Regions from separate parts of the Homo sapiens genome. Here regions 1, 2, 4, 5 and 6 are each linked to region 3. The links are contacts of gene promoters, found by promoter capture Hi-C in blood cells and fetal thymus (Javierre and others, 2016). All regions are on one chromosome and are shown on one strand. Each heading gives the region's core, a stretch centred on a gene start or on the middle of the fragment in contact. The rest is flanking DNA. Distances are from core to core; before and after follow the strand shown.

The links. The method cuts DNA at HindIII sites, captures the fragments that hold promoters and counts their contacts. A CHiCAGO score of 5 or more calls a contact.
Region 1: a fragment that was not itself captured here is called in contact with the fragment with the promoter of RASA1 in region 3 in 5 of 17 cell types (non-activated CD4 T cells, naive B cells, total B cells and 2 more); the score reaches 8.4 in non-activated CD4 T cells.
Region 2: a fragment that was not itself captured here is called in contact with the fragment with the promoter of RASA1 in region 3 in 1 of 17 cell types (activated CD4 T cells); the score reaches 5.1 in activated CD4 T cells.
Region 4: a fragment that was not itself captured here is called in contact with the fragment with the promoter of RASA1 in region 3 in 2 of 17 cell types (non-activated CD4 T cells and total B cells); the score reaches 6.4 in non-activated CD4 T cells.
Region 5: a contact is called between a fragment that was not itself captured here and the fragment with the promoter of RASA1 in region 3, in 1 of 17 cell types (total B cells). The highest score is 5.8, in total B cells.
Region 6: a contact is called between a fragment that was not itself captured here and the fragment with the promoter of RASA1 in region 3, in 2 of 17 cell types (non-activated CD4 T cells and monocytes). The highest score is 7.2, in non-activated CD4 T cells.

Annotation. Positions count from the first base shown.
Region 1 is chr5:91,383,015-91,385,714 of GRCh38, forward strand. It overlaps ARRDC3 (arrestin domain containing 3), which reads right to left and starts at 303. Exons shown (of 8, transcript NM_020801.4): 1 at 1-303. The coding sequence starts at 78. All of the region lies in intron 1 of ARRDC3-AS1 (ARRDC3 antisense RNA 1), which reads left to right. RefSeq lists a silencer at 210-519 and enhancers at 373-890, 770-1,069. The HindIII fragment of the contact is 278 bases long and covers 1,118-1,395 here.
Region 2 is chr5:83,068,095-83,070,794 of GRCh38, forward strand. All of the region lies in intron 1 of TMEM167A (transmembrane protein 167A), which reads right to left. Among named protein-coding and RNA genes, the nearest start is that of TMEM167A, 7.9 kb to the right of the region's middle. The HindIII fragment of the contact is 1,589 bases long and covers 466-2,054 here.
Region 3 is chr5:87,266,433-87,269,132 of GRCh38, forward strand. It overlaps RASA1 (RAS p21 protein activator 1), which reads left to right and starts at 1,451. Exons shown (of 25, transcript NM_002890.3): 1 at 1,451-2,558. The coding sequence starts at 2,020. RefSeq lists enhancers at 1,180-1,474, 1,528-2,415, 2,173-2,222 and silencers at 1,223-1,472, 1,813-1,992. The HindIII fragment of the contact is 5,594 bases long and covers 1-2,700 here.
Region 4 is chr5:90,416,633-90,419,332 of GRCh38, forward strand. No RefSeq gene overlaps it. Among named protein-coding and RNA genes, the nearest start is that of CETN3, 8.2 kb to the left of the region's middle. The HindIII fragment of the contact is 7,813 bases long and covers 1-2,700 here.
Region 5 is chr5:90,398,466-90,401,165 of GRCh38, forward strand. CETN3 (centrin 3) reads right to left here. Exons shown (of 5, transcript NM_004365.4): 4 at 893-1,084. Among named protein-coding and RNA genes, the nearest start is that of CETN3, 9.9 kb to the right of the region's middle. The HindIII fragment of the contact is 771 bases long and covers 995-1,765 here.
Region 6 is chr5:82,280,438-82,283,137 of GRCh38, forward strand. It overlaps the pseudogene ATP6AP1L. Among named protein-coding and RNA genes, the nearest start is that of RPS23, 3.4 kb to the left of the region's middle. The HindIII fragment of the contact is 5,869 bases long and covers 1-2,700 here.

The sequences.
Region 1 (2,700 bases), core at 7-2,506, 4.1 Mb after region 3:
ACTAGAATACACAGGGACATTGCTGTCATTAAGACAGTCAAAGCTTATTGTCAAACTCTTCACCTTTCCCAGCACCATGTTTATAACAAAATCTATAAAAATATAATGTAAGACAAAAAAGTCAAGATCGCATATAAAATGTGATCTTCACTTAACACTGATCGATATTTTTGCCGTGCAAAATGCTTGCAGGCCGGATCAGTGATTCTCTACAAATAGTTCATTGAGATTTCTTAAAAAGTCAGGGCAGCAGAGGCTGCTGCTCCGCGCTCCCGCTCGTCTCAGTGGTCTCCTTACAAAGACGGGCGGCTAAAAGCTGCCAGCTCACTTTAAGAGCAGCTTTGTGAAAAACAACCCCAGTGCGCAGGCGCAGGCCGCGGCTGCTGTCCGCCCTCCCTGCGCGCCCCCTCCCGCGCCGCGCCGCGCCGCGCTCGCTCCCTTGCCCGCTCGCTCCCGGGTACAGTAGGTGTAGAGCTAGGGGAAGGAGATACTGGAGCTGCTGGCCGGCTGAACCTGACTTCTCTTCATTGTGGGCTCCTATTGGTAGGCAGGCTACCGTATACCCTCGACGTGCTATCTGGAGCCCGTTACCGAGCGCACTCTACTAGAAAGATAATGGCAGAGTGGGGTGCGAGGGTACAAGGGCTGGGTGGGGAGTTTGCAAAGCCAAGTTAGGATAAACTGCAGCGACCAGCCCGAAGCGTGCGTTACCGGCACTGCAGCGTTTTACCAACTGCCTGGATGGGAGGAGGAAAAAGTGATGTGTGAAGAGAGATGGGGGAAGGGAGAAACCGGTTGGGCAAGCGGCCGATTGTTGAGCATAATCTAACGAATTTCCAAAGAAAACGTAATAAAACCGGACAAGAAATATTGTTCATAGACAAGAGCATACTTTGCTTGGATTTTTTTTTTTTAAACCAGTACTTTGTAGGCAGGTTGGAAATGAACTCAGTCGAGGTCAAAGGAACCTTAATCCTTTGAAGAGCGAGGTAGAGAAGCAAGTACAATGTAATCAATAGGCTTTGCTGTCTCCTCAACTTCTTTCTCCTACATTGCTTAATTAGCACCGAAAAACAACCAAGTTGTTTCCAGGATGACACGGGTGGGGGCTGGGGGAAGCTTGATCACTTCCTCGAAGGAAGAAAAAGTCCTTTTAAGACACCACCTACGGCTAGATTTGCAGAGTAAGACATGATTACAACTCCTGTGTCCAGAGGAATAAGAATAGAGTTCGGCCTAAAAAAGTACTACCTTATAAAAGGCATATGACATAGTGGTTTAGCTGACATATTGTTTGCAACAGAATCGGAAAATCTTTGTTAGAAATTAGTGAAGCGCATAAAATTGTTTTTAAAAAGCATGATTTGGTATATAAATAGGGATTTAACTGTGTGAAGCTTTAATTTTCGGCCGAGAGCCTTGGACCATTTAACGTAGTAATTCTCATGATACATCTTAAATATAGGTACATTTCTCTTTTTATTGTGAATGTTTGGTAAAAAATAGCAGTGCTTTCGTCACATCACACTGGGATTCAGAGCATAACAGCATAAACTCATCTAGATTACTGGCAATCAACAGAACTGCCTTACAAGAGAAATGTAGAAAGAAAAAATATGAATCTGGTGCTCTCTCTATATATATATGTATGACCAAAAATACCTTGGAAGATTTTTGGCTGTCCGTGTCTAAACGTTTTAGATTCTTTTGCGTAGTGTATATGGATAGGTTGAGCCTATGAGTCACAATAAACTAAACTTATTGGTCTTGCTGTTTTATTTCAAAAGAAACTAAGCTTTTGGGGGTTGGATTTTAGTTGACAAGGCAATATCTTGGACTCAACAGCAATATATAAAGAGTATAAATATGCAAACTAGACAATTAATGAGCAGGCCATTTATTTCAGAGTTTAGATCGCTATGCATAAAATTATAAATTTGCATATTTAAGTGGGAAAAACAGTCTTATCTTTTCCCTACCTCTTGGTTGACACCTGGTGGAAATTCTAGGTAAAGTACCTGGGGCCTTGTACTAGCTTTGATTACAGATACTACTTGTGTTTTTTCTCCACCTAGTGGTAGAAGTGGTGAATTTCCTAGAATGACAGCTTTTCCTCAGCATAAGGTCAATGATATTTAATAAGCATTCGAAAACCACTGAGCAAGGAATGGATTTAAAAGTGTAGTCCATAATGAATACATAAATTCATTGCACATTTGTGTCTACATTTATGTTAAAAATTATTAAGGGTTAGTGAACAGCTGAATTCGGATTTTTTTAGTAAAATTTATTTAATTAGAATATAACTCATTTCAGAAAAAATAAGAATTAGCTATATAAATACACCAGAATTGCATTTAATAAAAAAGAAGTCTAAGAAATTTATTTGTAGTTTGGAAAATTGTTTTAAAATATTAAATGTTTCATTCCTGTCACTGTGTAGTACATTATTCTTTGTGTTTGAAGCTTTCAGGATCTTTTGAATAGTTGTCTTTATTATTTATTTTGCTATTTTTAAAATTTTCTTTTTACTGTGTCTTCTTAAATACTTAGGTAACTGGCAAATTTCCAAGAAATTCTTACCAGCTGCCATTTTCATTATATTTTTATTTTTTGAGATGGAGTCTCACTCTGTTGCCCAGGCTGGAGTGCAGTGGCACAATCTAGGCTCTCTGCGGCCTCTGCCTCCCGGGTTCAGGC
Region 2 (2,700 bases), core at 10-2,509, 4.2 Mb before region 3:
TGCTTATCTTTCAAAGGTCATATTTTGAATATGTATGTGAATATATTAATAAATAATATTGGATAATGACCTCATAGAAAATAAAGCAGATTTCCTCCCAACATAACTAAATGTGTATTTGGTATCCACTTTGTCTGAGAAATGAGGCAGTGGGGATTAAAAAAAAGGCACATGGTATGATTCCTTCCCTACAGGAGTTTATGGCTAACAATAGCAATTACTGATATTCACTGAGTACTTGTTTTATGTTATCCTCATGTATCTGGGGTAAATATTACCTGAATTTTATTCATGATTGTTATTACCTGTATTTTATACATGAGACTGAGGCACACAGCAGTTATAATCAAGTAATCAAGTGAAAACAGAGCATGTACTTTAAAAAGTAAATAGTAACTCATTGTTGAATGTGGAAGTGAGTTATGCAGACAAAAAATGCCATTTTTGTAAGAAAAAGTCAGGAAAAGCTTCATGTAGAAAGCAGGAACGGAGTCAAACCTTGAAAGGGCACCATTCAGATGGGCAAATAGCAAGCTCCAGAAGAGAAAAAAAAATGTGGGAAAAAAACCCTACAGAAAAAGTCATTGGCACGTTCAGGGAATAATGAGAATCTTACTGTATTTTAAGCAAAAGATTCCTACAGTAAAATGGTTGGAAAACAAATCTTCAAAGTAGGTTTATCATTTTCCTAATGCAGTATCTAAATTCATGACTTTGTAATGTGTTCTCTTTCCTTCTCCAAATGTGTTTTTAAAGAAAACATGCTTAAATGATATAATGTTCAGGATTGGTTTCTAAATAATCCAGTGCATGTGTGGTGGGAGAGGGGTAGGGTTGATGATAAAATGCTGAGAATATGAGGGTTCATTATAGGCTTCTACCTCTTTATGTTTGAATGTTTTCATAATAGAAGATAAAAAGGCACTTAAAAACATGCCTATTAGGAAAGTAGAGTGTGTATATACGTTTGTGTGTGAAGCCATTTACAAAAGAAAACCATTTACAAGTATGAAATATATGATATATACAACTTTGTTCTGGGGGTTTAAAGCCTCTAAAGTTTAAAACAAATAATCTTAGGTGGTAAGTCTTTTAGATGTACTCAGACTCTGGTCAAAAGTGTGTTTCTAACTTACGGACATTAGCCTGCCACCTATAGCATTCCCCTTAATGCTTAGCATCTGTTGTCTGGTGACATAAAATTTTAGTCTCAGGGTTAAAGGAAACAGATGTTCCTCTTCAGTGAAAAAATAATTGCAATTTTCAACAGAAAAATGTTATTAAAAGGGAAAGGAGGAATCTAAGAAAAGGTAAGCATATTTAATCACAAAACAGAGGAAAAGATGATTAAAAGGTGGTAAGTCAAATTCATTTACCTTGTTTAATTTTTTTCAGGGCCTTTAAGTCATGAAACCTTTTCCAAGGTACTCTATTGAGTTTTGCACATGCTATCTGTTCTTGCCTGCTTGGTGAACTGACTCATGCGTCCAATCTCAACTCAAGATTCACCTCCTCTGATGTCTTTCCTGTTCCCACTCACTATACCAAGCAGAGTCAGGATTTTTGTATGTGCATAATACATACACATAACAATGTGTATGTTATAGAACACATCATACTGTACTGTGATTGTCTATTCTATTGAGGTTTTCATCAATCCCCTGTGACTATTAAAATATAGTACACAGAGAAGTCACTGAAAAGTGTCAAATGAACAGGAACTTGAACGCAACTGGCAATAATGAACATTTTAACAAATCCAAGAGCATACTTGGATTCCAAAGAAAAAATACACATTCAAAAACCAGTGTAGATCAGATTGCTGAATACAGTATTTTGTTAACTCTTCAAGAGAAACCTCCATGTATGGCTTTGCATATATGCTTACTTCTCAAGAATATTTTGGAAAATCAAGTAGAAAGATGCAAATTTCCTTATATTTATGTTAAGGACCTAGGCTGTAGGGTAAAATAAAGACCTGAGGTAATTTCCATTCAGTATCCACATCTTCTATCACCTCCTGGAATTCAGATTTTCTATTCTATCAAGCAGCAAGCTTTGAAGGTGCTTGCACACTGGAAAGTGTGTGTTCTTCTGACTTCTTTTAATTCTTAAGAGATATACACTTTCAAAAGATCTGTACGACTGAGTACGCAGGTTCTGTAAGACTGAGTACGCAGGTTATCTTGACCATTACTCTGAGAGCTATGTCATTCTTCTAAAACATGGCAATGGAGGCCTCCAAACGATTTGTCATCAAGGGCTCTTTTACTAACCCTCTGCATTGTAGACTTATCTGACAACTCATAATCAATAAGATCTTTTGATATGCTTGAAACAACTAGTGTTATTGAACTGAGTTAATTTACCCAAACCGGAAGGATATAAACTTGAGTCAGTTACTTTATTTGATCATTTTGAAGTAAATCACATTTGGTTAGGTGTTTTGAAATAATAAAAATAATTCACAGACTTTATTTGGCCACCACTACAGGAGATGCAATAATTAATCAATGAATAGATGCAAGGTCAATACAAAGCTAAGGAAGGGGTCTAGACATGAAATTACTTACAATGTTGACAAACCTCTAAAAAATGTTCTATTTTCAAGTCTATTTGAAAAATTAGTTTTTAGATTTTTAAAATCATTTTATTTATTAAGATGAAATTTCTCATTTTCAGAGTCATTTCTGAACACTA
Region 3 (2,700 bases), core at 201-2,700:
GGATCGCTGCATATTTTCTGATTCAGAAGGTCTGAGGTGGCATTTCTGAATTCCTAGGATGTTGCGGCCTGAATTCACTTTGAGAACTCTAGCTCCTGTGACTGGTCCATCTTCCTTCTCCCAGGTAGCACACTGCTAAGAGATATGCGTAATGGAGGCCCCAGGACTACTCCTAATCAAGTTGGATTGTTGTCATTGACTAGGTAAATAGGCCTGTGCAAACTTACAAAGGCAATGCATTGCCTGTATCTTGTCACGTCTTTTAGTGGTCTTTTCTCTTTTTCCTGGGTTTCTATCACAGCCACTTGCCATCCTGAGTGTTAGTTTGATCATCCTTAGCACAGAAAATATTGATCTCAAAGATCAATATCCAATGGTATTTAATGTGGGATCACTCCTGGGAGAATTTAACAATATTGTTAATTTCAAACCATGGGAAGCTCCCTCTACATGAATGCATAGTTTGTATACATTTTAGTGTAAAAGACAAAATAACACCCTTCTCCTTAATTGTATTAAAAATGAGTTTTCAGTTTATTGCTACTTTTGAAACGATATATAATTATAACTAGCATTCTGGGACATTCTTGACATTTGACTTGTTGAAGGTGCTTGCATTGTGGATCACGTCCTGCAGTCTTTTGCACACAAACCAGGACAAAAGTGCATTGATTAGTGTTTTCTGTGGCACCTCCTCCTCTTCATCAGTATCCAACAGACTTATAATGGCATAGGTAAGTATATGAGACAGTTGATAAAGAAAAACGTATGCAAATACTGGTAGAAATCTTACTTCATAACCACTATTTCTACTCAAATTCTTCACCCTTCTCATATGGTGCCCTTTATTTCGTTTTGGAGTTTCAGAATCTATTTTAACTGTGTGTGTGTGAGATAGTCATAGTGATTTATAGCATGCAACGAAAAAGAAAACATTAATAGTACTGCCCCGATCTTCAAAGCTACCTGACCCCTGCCCGGTTTCTGCGCTGCTGGTTAAGGCTGTTTTTTCCACTGGTCAGGAAGTACGGAACTAGTTTCTGGGCATTTTCCTTTCCCTTTCCCCCTCCTTCCTCTCCACCGCCTCCTGGTCCCCCTCTGGTCTCTCCGGCTTTAACAGCGCCAAGCACCCGCGTGCTCAGGTACCCTTCCCTCTTCTCCCGCCCATCAAACAAAGCCCCGGGAGACAGGCGCGCGCCGCCGGCCACGCCAACAGGAGATGCGGCCGCGCCGCCACACGCTTGGAACCGGAGGAGGACAGCAAGCGCGACCACGCACCGCGCGTCCCCGCCGCTTCCTTCCCTCTGGACTCTTCCTTTTCCTCCCGGCCCGGCCCCCCGCCCCCGCTCCGGGAACGCGCCTGCGCACAAGCTGCCCTCTCCCTTCTCCGCCCTTCCTTCCCTCCGTCCCTCCTCCCCTGCCCCGCCTTCCTTTCTCTCTCTCCCGTTTCACTCACTGAGAGCTCCAGGTAGTGAGCAGTTCAGTCGATTTCCTCGTTACCCCGCCCCCCTTTCTCTTGCCCCCCCACCCCTCTCATCTGCCTGGTGGAGGATGAAGCGGCTGCAGTGGCCCCAGCCTCAGCAGCGGCACCGGCGGTGGCTGCGGTGTGGGTGGCCGGAACTGGGGTGGTGAAGAAGCGGTGGTGGCGGCTGAAGGAGCGGTAGCAGCCTCAGCCTCTTTCCCTGTGCTTCCTTTCCTCTTTAGTGCAGCGAGGAAGTTTTCGCTTCTGTACATGTGTTTGTGTGCGTGAGTGTGGGTGTGTGCGGTGAGGTTTGGGTGGCGTTTGTGCAGGCGTTGGGTTTTTTGCCCACTTGGCTTCCCGTAACCCAGGCAGCTGGGGAGCCTGGGCTGTGGCCCTAGGAGGGGGCGCGGCGGCGGGCTCTCTCCTTTTGTTGTTGTTTCCTCAGCCTGGGGAGCTGAAGGGGAGACGCGTCTGGGTGGGGCTGCTCGGAGCCCGGGCCTGGTGGCCCCTGGGGCTCCCGGGCGGGCAGGGTAGGGCAGAGTAGAGCGGGCTTCAACATGATGGCGGCCGAGGCCGGCAGTGAGGAGGGCGGCCCGGTAACAGCCGGAGCTGGAGGAGGCGGCGCGGCAGCGGGCTCCAGTGCCTATCCCGCAGTGTGTCGGGTGAAGATACCCGCGGCCCTGCCTGTGGCAGCCGCCCCCTATCCTGGGCTGGTGGAGACCGGAGTGGCTGGAACTCTGGGTGGCGGAGCCGCTTTGGGGTCAGAGTTCCTAGGAGCCGGGTCTGTGGCAGGGGCACTGGGGGGAGCTGGACTGACAGGGGGAGGTACTGCTGCTGGCGTAGCTGGTGCTGCTGCTGGCGTGGCCGGTGCTGCTGTTGCTGGACCTAGTGGAGACATGGCTCTCACCAAACTGCCCACTTCGTTGCTTGCTGAGACTCTCGGGCCAGGCGGCGGTTTTCCCCCTCTGCCCCCTCCCCCTTACCTGCCCCCTTTGGGGGCGGGCCTCGGGACAGTGGACGAAGGTGACTCTCTGGATGGACCAGAATACGAGGAGGAAGAGGTGGCCATACCGTTGACCGCTCCTCCAACTAACCAGTAAGTTAAGACTGCTGTTCAGGAATTTGGGAAGCTGGCTCCAGAAAAGAAGTGGAAATGAAGGGGTAAATCATACTTTGTCCTTTTCATCTGTGGTTTGTTAGGAAAAGTTTTTGAAGTTTCAGGTTTCTTGGGTAGGAAT
Region 4 (2,700 bases), core at 82-2,581, 3.2 Mb after region 3:
ATACCCGGCTAATTTTTTTATTTTTAGGAGAGACAGGGTTTCACCATGTTGCGCAGGCTGGTCTGGAACTGCTGACCTCAAGTGATCCACCCGCCTCTGCCTGTCAAAGTCTTGGGATTACAGGTGTGAGCCACCATACCCAGCCCCCAAAAATGTTTTAAATAGTTAGGCACGATGGCACACACCTGTGGTCCTAGCTGCTTGAGAAGCTAAGGCAGGAGGATTGCTTGAGCCCAGGAGGTCAAGGTTGCAGGGAACTACTGTGCCACTGCACTCTAGCCTGGGTGACAGAGTTAGACTGTCTCAAAAAAATAAAAAGAACTCAGTAAAAAGAAAAAAGCTATCAAGCCATGAAATAACATGAAGGAAACTTACATGCATATTACTAAGTAAAAGAAGGCAAATCTGAAAGGCTACATACTGTATGATTCCAACAATGTGACATTTTGGAAAAGATAAAAACTACGGAGGCAGCAAAAAGATCAGTGGCCATCAGGGATCAGGCAGAGGAGGCATGAATAGGCAGAGCACAGAGGATGTTTAGGGCAGTGAACACTATTCTATATGATCCTATAATAATGGACAGATTTAATGATATATTTGTTAATACCCATGGAATGTACAACACCAAAAGTGAATCTTAATGTGAGCTCTTTACTTCAGATGATAATAATGTGATAACACATCAATGTGTTACTGGCAGGTCTTTGTTCTTAAGAGTTCCCAAGATGGTGGCGGGCCACTCCCAAGATGGTGGCAAGCCTTTTGCTCTCTGACCTGGAGTTCTTGGCCTCACAGATTCCAAGGAATGGAACCTTGGGCCATGCAGTGAGTGTAATAGCTCTATTAGAAGCTGTGGGTCATGGAAGAGAACTGTGGAACCCAGCGACTAGTGTTCAGCTTGATTAGGACGAACCTGGGCACTTAGCTGCACAGGAACAATGGTGAGCCTTTAGCCCCATCAGGAGTGGCAATGGGTGCCTCACTGGATCAGAAGTGCAGTGGACACCCTGCTGGATCTGGAGGGTGGAAGTCAGCAGCAGTGTCTGCAATGACAGCGATCAGCAGTGGTGGACAGTGAGCGAAAGCTCAGCTCGAGCCAGAACAAACAGGGACCAGAAGAGTGTGCAGTTGCAAGATTTAATAGAGTGAAAACAGAGCTCCCATACAACAGGAGGGCACCCAAAGGGAGTTGCCACTGCTGGCTGGAACGCCTGGGTTTTTATCCTGATCATTGTCCCTCCCCCTGTGCTCTCAGGTGATAGATGATTGACTATTTCTTTACCTCCTGCTTTTAGCCTAATTGGTATTTTAGTGAGCTGAGTTACAAGCCCTGTGTTTAAAGGTAGGTGCAGTCACTTCCCCAGCTAGGCTTAGGAATTCTTAGTCAGCCTAGGAAATCCAACTAGTCCTGTCTCTCAAATGTAGGTTCATCAGTTGTCATAAATATACCTCTCTCATGCAAGATGTTGATAGTAGGGGAGAGGTTGCACAAGTATAGGGGCAGAGGATACGTGAGCTCTGAAATTTCTGCTCAATTTTGCTGTGAACCTAAAACTGCTCTAAAAAATGGTCTATTTTCTTAAAAAGATGAGACTGTTGGAGTACTTAAAATGTATTACCTCTGGGAAATGGGAAATGAGACACTGATTACCTATTCCAACTGAGACCAATTGCCCAATTGCTTTTTAGATCTGTAAAACAACAGTTGGATTCCTTGGTTAAACTCACTGTTTCTCATATTTCACATCTTCATCCTGTTATGTTTCACTCTTACTTTGCTGGAGTATATCTTCAGGAACTCAGAAATGGTATATGACAGGCAAATTTTCTAAATTCTTTATTTTGTCCCCACAACTGCTTTCACAGTTGAAACAGAAAATGGAAAAGAATGGGACAGGCGACTTTTACCCTTATGAACTATATTTAGTAAACCACATCTATGAAGTACTTTGATAAAAATGCAGAATAGAAGGAAAAATTCATCTGGACAAAATGTATTCTACAGTCCATTGGGAAAATAAAGTTAGATCCACATTTCAGATTTTGTATCAAAATACAATCAAAACAAGTTGAAAGTTTAACTATAAAAAAAGTTAAAAGAACATATACTTAGTTTAATAATTTTAGAATTCAGAAAGACTTCCTCAGCATAATTACCAACATTAGAAGCCATAAAATAATGATAGATCTGAGTACACAAATGTACTTTTTTTTTTTTTTGAGACAGAATCTTGTTTTGTCACTCAGGCTCGAGTCCAGCGGTGCAATCTCAGTTCACTGCAACCTCTGCCTCCCAGGTTCAAGCGATTCTCCTGCCTCAGCCTTCCAAGTAGCTGAGAGTACAAGCCCGTGCCACCAATCCTGGCTGATTTTTGTATTTTTAGTAGAGATGGGGTTTCACCACGTTGGTCAGGCTGGTCTCGAACTCCAACCTCGGGTGATCCACCTGCATTGGCCTCCCAAAGTGCTGGGACTATAGGCGTGAGCCACCGTACCTGGCCCAAGTGCACATTTTTATATAAATAAAATATCTTTATATAAATAAAATACACACCAAGCTATTTAACCAGTGGTTAACTCTGGAGAGAACAATGGCAACTGGAGAAAGGGATCAGGAAGGATCTTCAGTGGAAAGTACCGAAACGGCAAAACAGAAAATAATAAATTGGGCTTCACCAACAAAACAGAAAATAAATA
Region 5 (2,700 bases), core at 130-2,629, 3.1 Mb after region 3:
TATTTACCTGAGAGAATGAATCACATTTTAGCAGGCAGAAATTAACAATTAGAGCATTCTAAGATTAAGAAACAGCAGGATGAAACGAATAGCATAAAAATGTGTTTTCAGGATAGCATATGTTGACAAAATGTGTACATACAGGAGGTGAGGGTTAAAGAAGAAAAGTGAAAGAATACACTGGAAAGTAAAATCAGTTACTCAAGGTGGGATAGATCATAGAAGGCTTTGAACTTTACTCTGTAGGCACTGAAGAATCGTTTCAAGTGTCTAAACACAGAAATGGCATTATCAAATGTATATTTTAGGAAAAGAATGATACCAAGAGACTGAAGAAGAGATTAGAGACTTTTATATGCCGAAAGGGCAATTAGGACACTACAAGAGACTGCAAAGTGAAAGCAAGAACCACATCTGCCTTTTTCATTGTGTAGCACCAGTCAACACGCAGGACACTGCACCCAGTAGGCAGCCAAGGCAAGAATAAATGAGGCCATTATAACATTCCTAACTAGAAATTAGGGCCTGAACTAGGACAGCCACAATGGACAAAGATAAAAACAGATTCAAAACATTTGAAGGGGAAAATCAATAGAACTTAGAACTTAGCATGTAGGTTGAGGGAGAAGCCATTAAAGACTGAAATTATATTGAAAGGCTGAAATTTTGGTGGTTTCACCTTCAGAGAAAAGTGAAGGACCTTCTTGAAGTATAATTGGTTTTAGAGATCTGCTTCATTCTAAATTGAATATGTGAATTATTTAGACAGAAGGTCCATTACAAGAAGCAGTTAAGTTTACAAAAAAGTCTTGCAAGTCATTTGGTTTTAGAAAAATGTATTACATGTGTAGCATCAGGAAAACCTGGAAAATACGTTTCACTTAAAACTTACTTTCTCCATCACCATCTTTGTCAAATTCTTCTATCATAGCTCGAAGTTCTTCATCACTCATGTTTTCACCCAATTCTCTAGCAACACGTCGCAAATTCCTCAAGCTTATTTTACCTGAATCATCATCATCAAATAGTTTAAATGCCTTGAGTATTTCTTCATGGGGATCTCTTTCCAATATCCAGTCTGTCACTACAGTTTAAAAACATATATATTTTAATAAACCTGCATAATCACAAAGGCATTCATTTGTGAAATCAACTAAATATTAGATGAGAATTAAAGCTGTGACTGTCAACTTTTAGTCTGACAATAAAATGTCAAATGAGATCCCCAAACCCCGAGATAAACCTGAAATTAGAAAAATCAAATCCATATTTTAAATGTTAACCTTTTTTATCATGAGCAACTTGTCTTATTATAAAAGTAAGCAAAACTATATCACACAGAGGCAAAATAAAAAGGACTACATTTATACCATATTTATTTAAGATCTACTATTATCAAGAATTGTACTAGGCTCCACTGACATCAAGCACACAAGGAGTGTGTCATCTACCTGTGGAGAGACATACCAACAAAATAATTGGAGCTAACTAAATAAAAGCTGCTTGCTGACTAAACGTCATACTAACACTGATTCTTCCTCAAATTTAATCCAACTTCAAAACAAGAAAAACTGCAAGAGACAAAAAGTACTGCCATCGCAGACACAGGCACAATCTCAGACAGCATTTGAAAATTCCACTAATACCTTTGTGATTAGAAGAACCTCTTGGTTTTCCAAAATTTACAAAGTAGTAAATAGGATCAAATCTGACTATAGCAGGAAAGCCCACCCAAAAAAAACCTCTGCAAAGAAGGTCTCCTTAAAGCTTACCCATTTTGTTTGGATAAATCACTCTCAGACAACTAACTAAAAATAAATGTAGTTTCAAACCTCAATGGTAATTGTGTATTTTAATACACTAAATATAATCACATGTAATAACATAGTAATAAGCTTAAGTATTTTCAATTTTACCAGTCTTTAATCAATAGCCACAATAAAAATTAAAATAAAAATCTATGGCATAAAAATTGGTAAGTTACTAAATAAAATTCTAACAGTATCTAAATAAGTATCTCTGAAGTAATTATATACACTATCTGCCACTACAAGAAAAGGTATTTATGGCCTTTACTATGCTATTAAAAATAACTCGGTCCTGTTGAAGGTTACAGAATCATTAAAAAAAAAAAAAAAAGCAACTGCTTATAGATGGAAAATACTGGAATGTTTAAGGAACCCAGAATGAAAAAAATACAATCGAAGTCTCCAACAAGCTGTTGTTTTGCTGCTGTTTCACCCGTATTTGGTTCAATAATCACCTATTCAAATGACTATTATATCATCTACACATATTTTCAATAGTTTCCTTTTATCCATTAATTTTATCCAAAAAGGCTTCCAAGTAACTAATTGAAGTATATTACTGTAAGTATGCAAATCATCAAAGCTCATAAATATTCAGTCAAAAAGAAGCTGGCATATCTACAGCCATAACACCAAAATAAAATACCACACTTAACTCTATGGCACATACTCAACTTATTTTGAATTTAGTCCCAACAAAAAAGCAGGACAAGGAAAAAAAGTGTTAAGAAATTTTCTTCACCAATTAAATAATTTACATGACAGGTGAACCAAAAAAGCAGCTTGCTGAAAGTATTAATGTACTTAAAGAAGCAACAGGGTGATTGGGGAACAGATGGGGCTCCAAGATGTATAAATTCTTATCCCACTGGTACTTTAATTGTGTTAGTTA
Region 6 (2,700 bases), core at 103-2,602, 5.0 Mb before region 3:
AAAGAGATAAGATGAGGACTGAGAATTGCCTTTTGGACTTGAAAATGTGGAGATTACTGGTCACTTTGTCAAATGGGGACTCCATGGAGTACTGAAAGTGAAAGGCGATGGGATCGGAGTGAAGAGAATATGGGAGGGAAGGAAGTCTAGACAGCAACTATAGACAATTTTTGAAAGACATTTTTTATGTGCAGAGAAATGGCACCCTATTTGGAGGGGAATGTGGAGTTGGAGGGTTTTATTTTTAAGATGGCAACTTTTATGACATTTTTGTATGCTGATCAGGTTGAGAAAATTAAAAATGGGTTATTCAGCAGAGAAGGGATAATTGCAGGAGCAACTCCTTAAGTAGACTAGAAGGGTACCCAAGTGGAGGAGTTAACTGTAGGAACAATAACAGTTTATGTATGGTAGTAGAGTGACAGGTACAGCTGCAAGTAAATTGGAAGATTTGATGATAGGAAGTTGTGGAACTTCTTCACTTTTGACTTACTTTTTCAATTTTTTCAATGAAATAAAAAGCAAGGCCATCAGTGAAGAGAAAGAGTGGGAGAAAAAGGTTTGAGGAGAGAAGGTAAGATGTGAAATCATCATCAATGATAACAATATAAGCATTAGATAGTATTTACTATGTGCCAGATTCTATTTTTGGCTTATATTTATTAACTCATTTTATTCTCATAAGGAATTTTACTGAGGGACAGATAACGATAATTTTACTGAGGGATAGATATACAAAAACTGAGGCTTTGGTGAGTTTAACTTCCCCAAGATCACGTATTTAGTAAGTGGTAGAAGTAAGATTTTAACCCAGGTAATCTGGTTTTAGAATCTTGTATTTGACCCCTCTTATACTGCCTCCTAATCTAGAATGGTAGGAAAATGCATTGACAAGAAAATAGGTTTTTTGAGCAGTTCTGAGAGCCCATTTGAAATCTGTGTTTATGAAGTGACATCAGTGAGTTATGTGTATTTCTTCAGATTCACAAATACTGCATGTTTACACTTATATGTGGAATCTAAAAATTTTGAACGGATAGAAGCAGTGAGTAGAATGGTGGGCGTGGGAGTTTGGGGGATCTGGGGAGCTGTTGGTCAAAGGATACAAAGGTTTAGTTTGACAGGAGGAGAAAATTTTCGAGAGACTTGTTGAATAACATGGTGACTCCAGTTGACCCACAAACAATATGGGTTTGAATTGTGTGGGTCCACATACAGGCAGATTTTCTTCTGCCTCTGACACCCCGAGAAAGCAAAAACTCCTCTTCCTCTTCCTCCTCCTCAGCCTACTCAATGTGATGACCTTTATGATGATCCATTTCCATTTAATGAGTAGTAAATAAATTTTCTCTTCTTTCTAATTTTGTTATTAACATTCATTTCTGTGGCTTAATTTATTGTAAGAATATGGTATGTAATACACGTAACATGAAATATGTGTTAATAGGCTGTTTATGTTATCAGTAAGAGTTCCAGTCAACAGTAGGCTATTAGTAGTTAAGTTTTCGGAAAGTCGGAAGTTATACACAGATTTTCTACTGTGTGGGGAGGTCAGCATCCCTAACCCCCATGTTGTTCAAGGGTCAACTGTATAAATAACAAAGTTTATATTGAAAATTGCTAAAAGAATAGATTTTAAGTGTTCTCACCACAGAAAAATGATACAAAAGTATTTGAGGTAATGCATATGTTAGTTAGCTCTATTTAACCATTGTACAATGTACATATATATTTAAAATATGTTGTAAACCATAAATATACACAGATTTTGTTAAAGAATAAATAATTTAAAAATAATATTTAAAAAAGATGGAGCCACACAAAAAGTGATTACTCAATGAAATTGTGTCACTGTCTTACACTGAAAGCATAAATCAACTCTGGATAAATTAAGGGCTTAAATATCAACAAGAAAACTTTGAAATTCTTAATAGAGAACAAAGGTGAATATCTTTTTGAACTTAGGAAAGGAAAATGTTTCTACACATGACAAGAATGATAAATTTGATCATATTAAAATTAAGACCCTCTATTCATCAAAAACATCTGAAAGAAAGTGAAAAGACAAGTTCCATACTGAGAATTGCTATTCATAGCCACAAAACTTACAAAGGATTAATATTTTAAAAAATTTCTGGCCGGGCGTGGTGGCTCACACCTGTAATCCCAGCACTTTGGGAGGCCGAGGCAGGGGGATCACGTGAGGTCAGGAATTCGAGACCAGCCTGGCCAACATGGTGAAACCCCCTCTCTACTGAAAATACAAAAATTAGCCGGGTGTGGTGGCGCATGCCTGTAATCCCAGTTACTCAGGAGGCTGAGGCAGGAAAATCGCTTGAACTGAGGAGGCAGAGGTTGCAGTGAGCCGAGATCGCTCCATTGCACTCCAGCCTGGGCAACAAAGTGAGACTCTGTCTCAAAAGAAACAAACAAAAAAATCCCTTCTACAGAATAATATAAAAGAACAAATAATACAGTGAGAAAACATGACAAAGGACAGGAATAGACCAGCCATGGTGGCTCACATCTGTAATCCTAGCACTTTCGGAGACTGAGGCAGGTGGATCACTTGAGGTCAGGAGTTCAAGACCAGCCTGGCCAACATAGTGAAACCCCATCTCTTTACTAAAAATACAAAGAAAAAAAGAATTAGCTGGGCATGGTCGCGTCTGCCTGTAGTCCCAGCTACTCGGGAGGCTG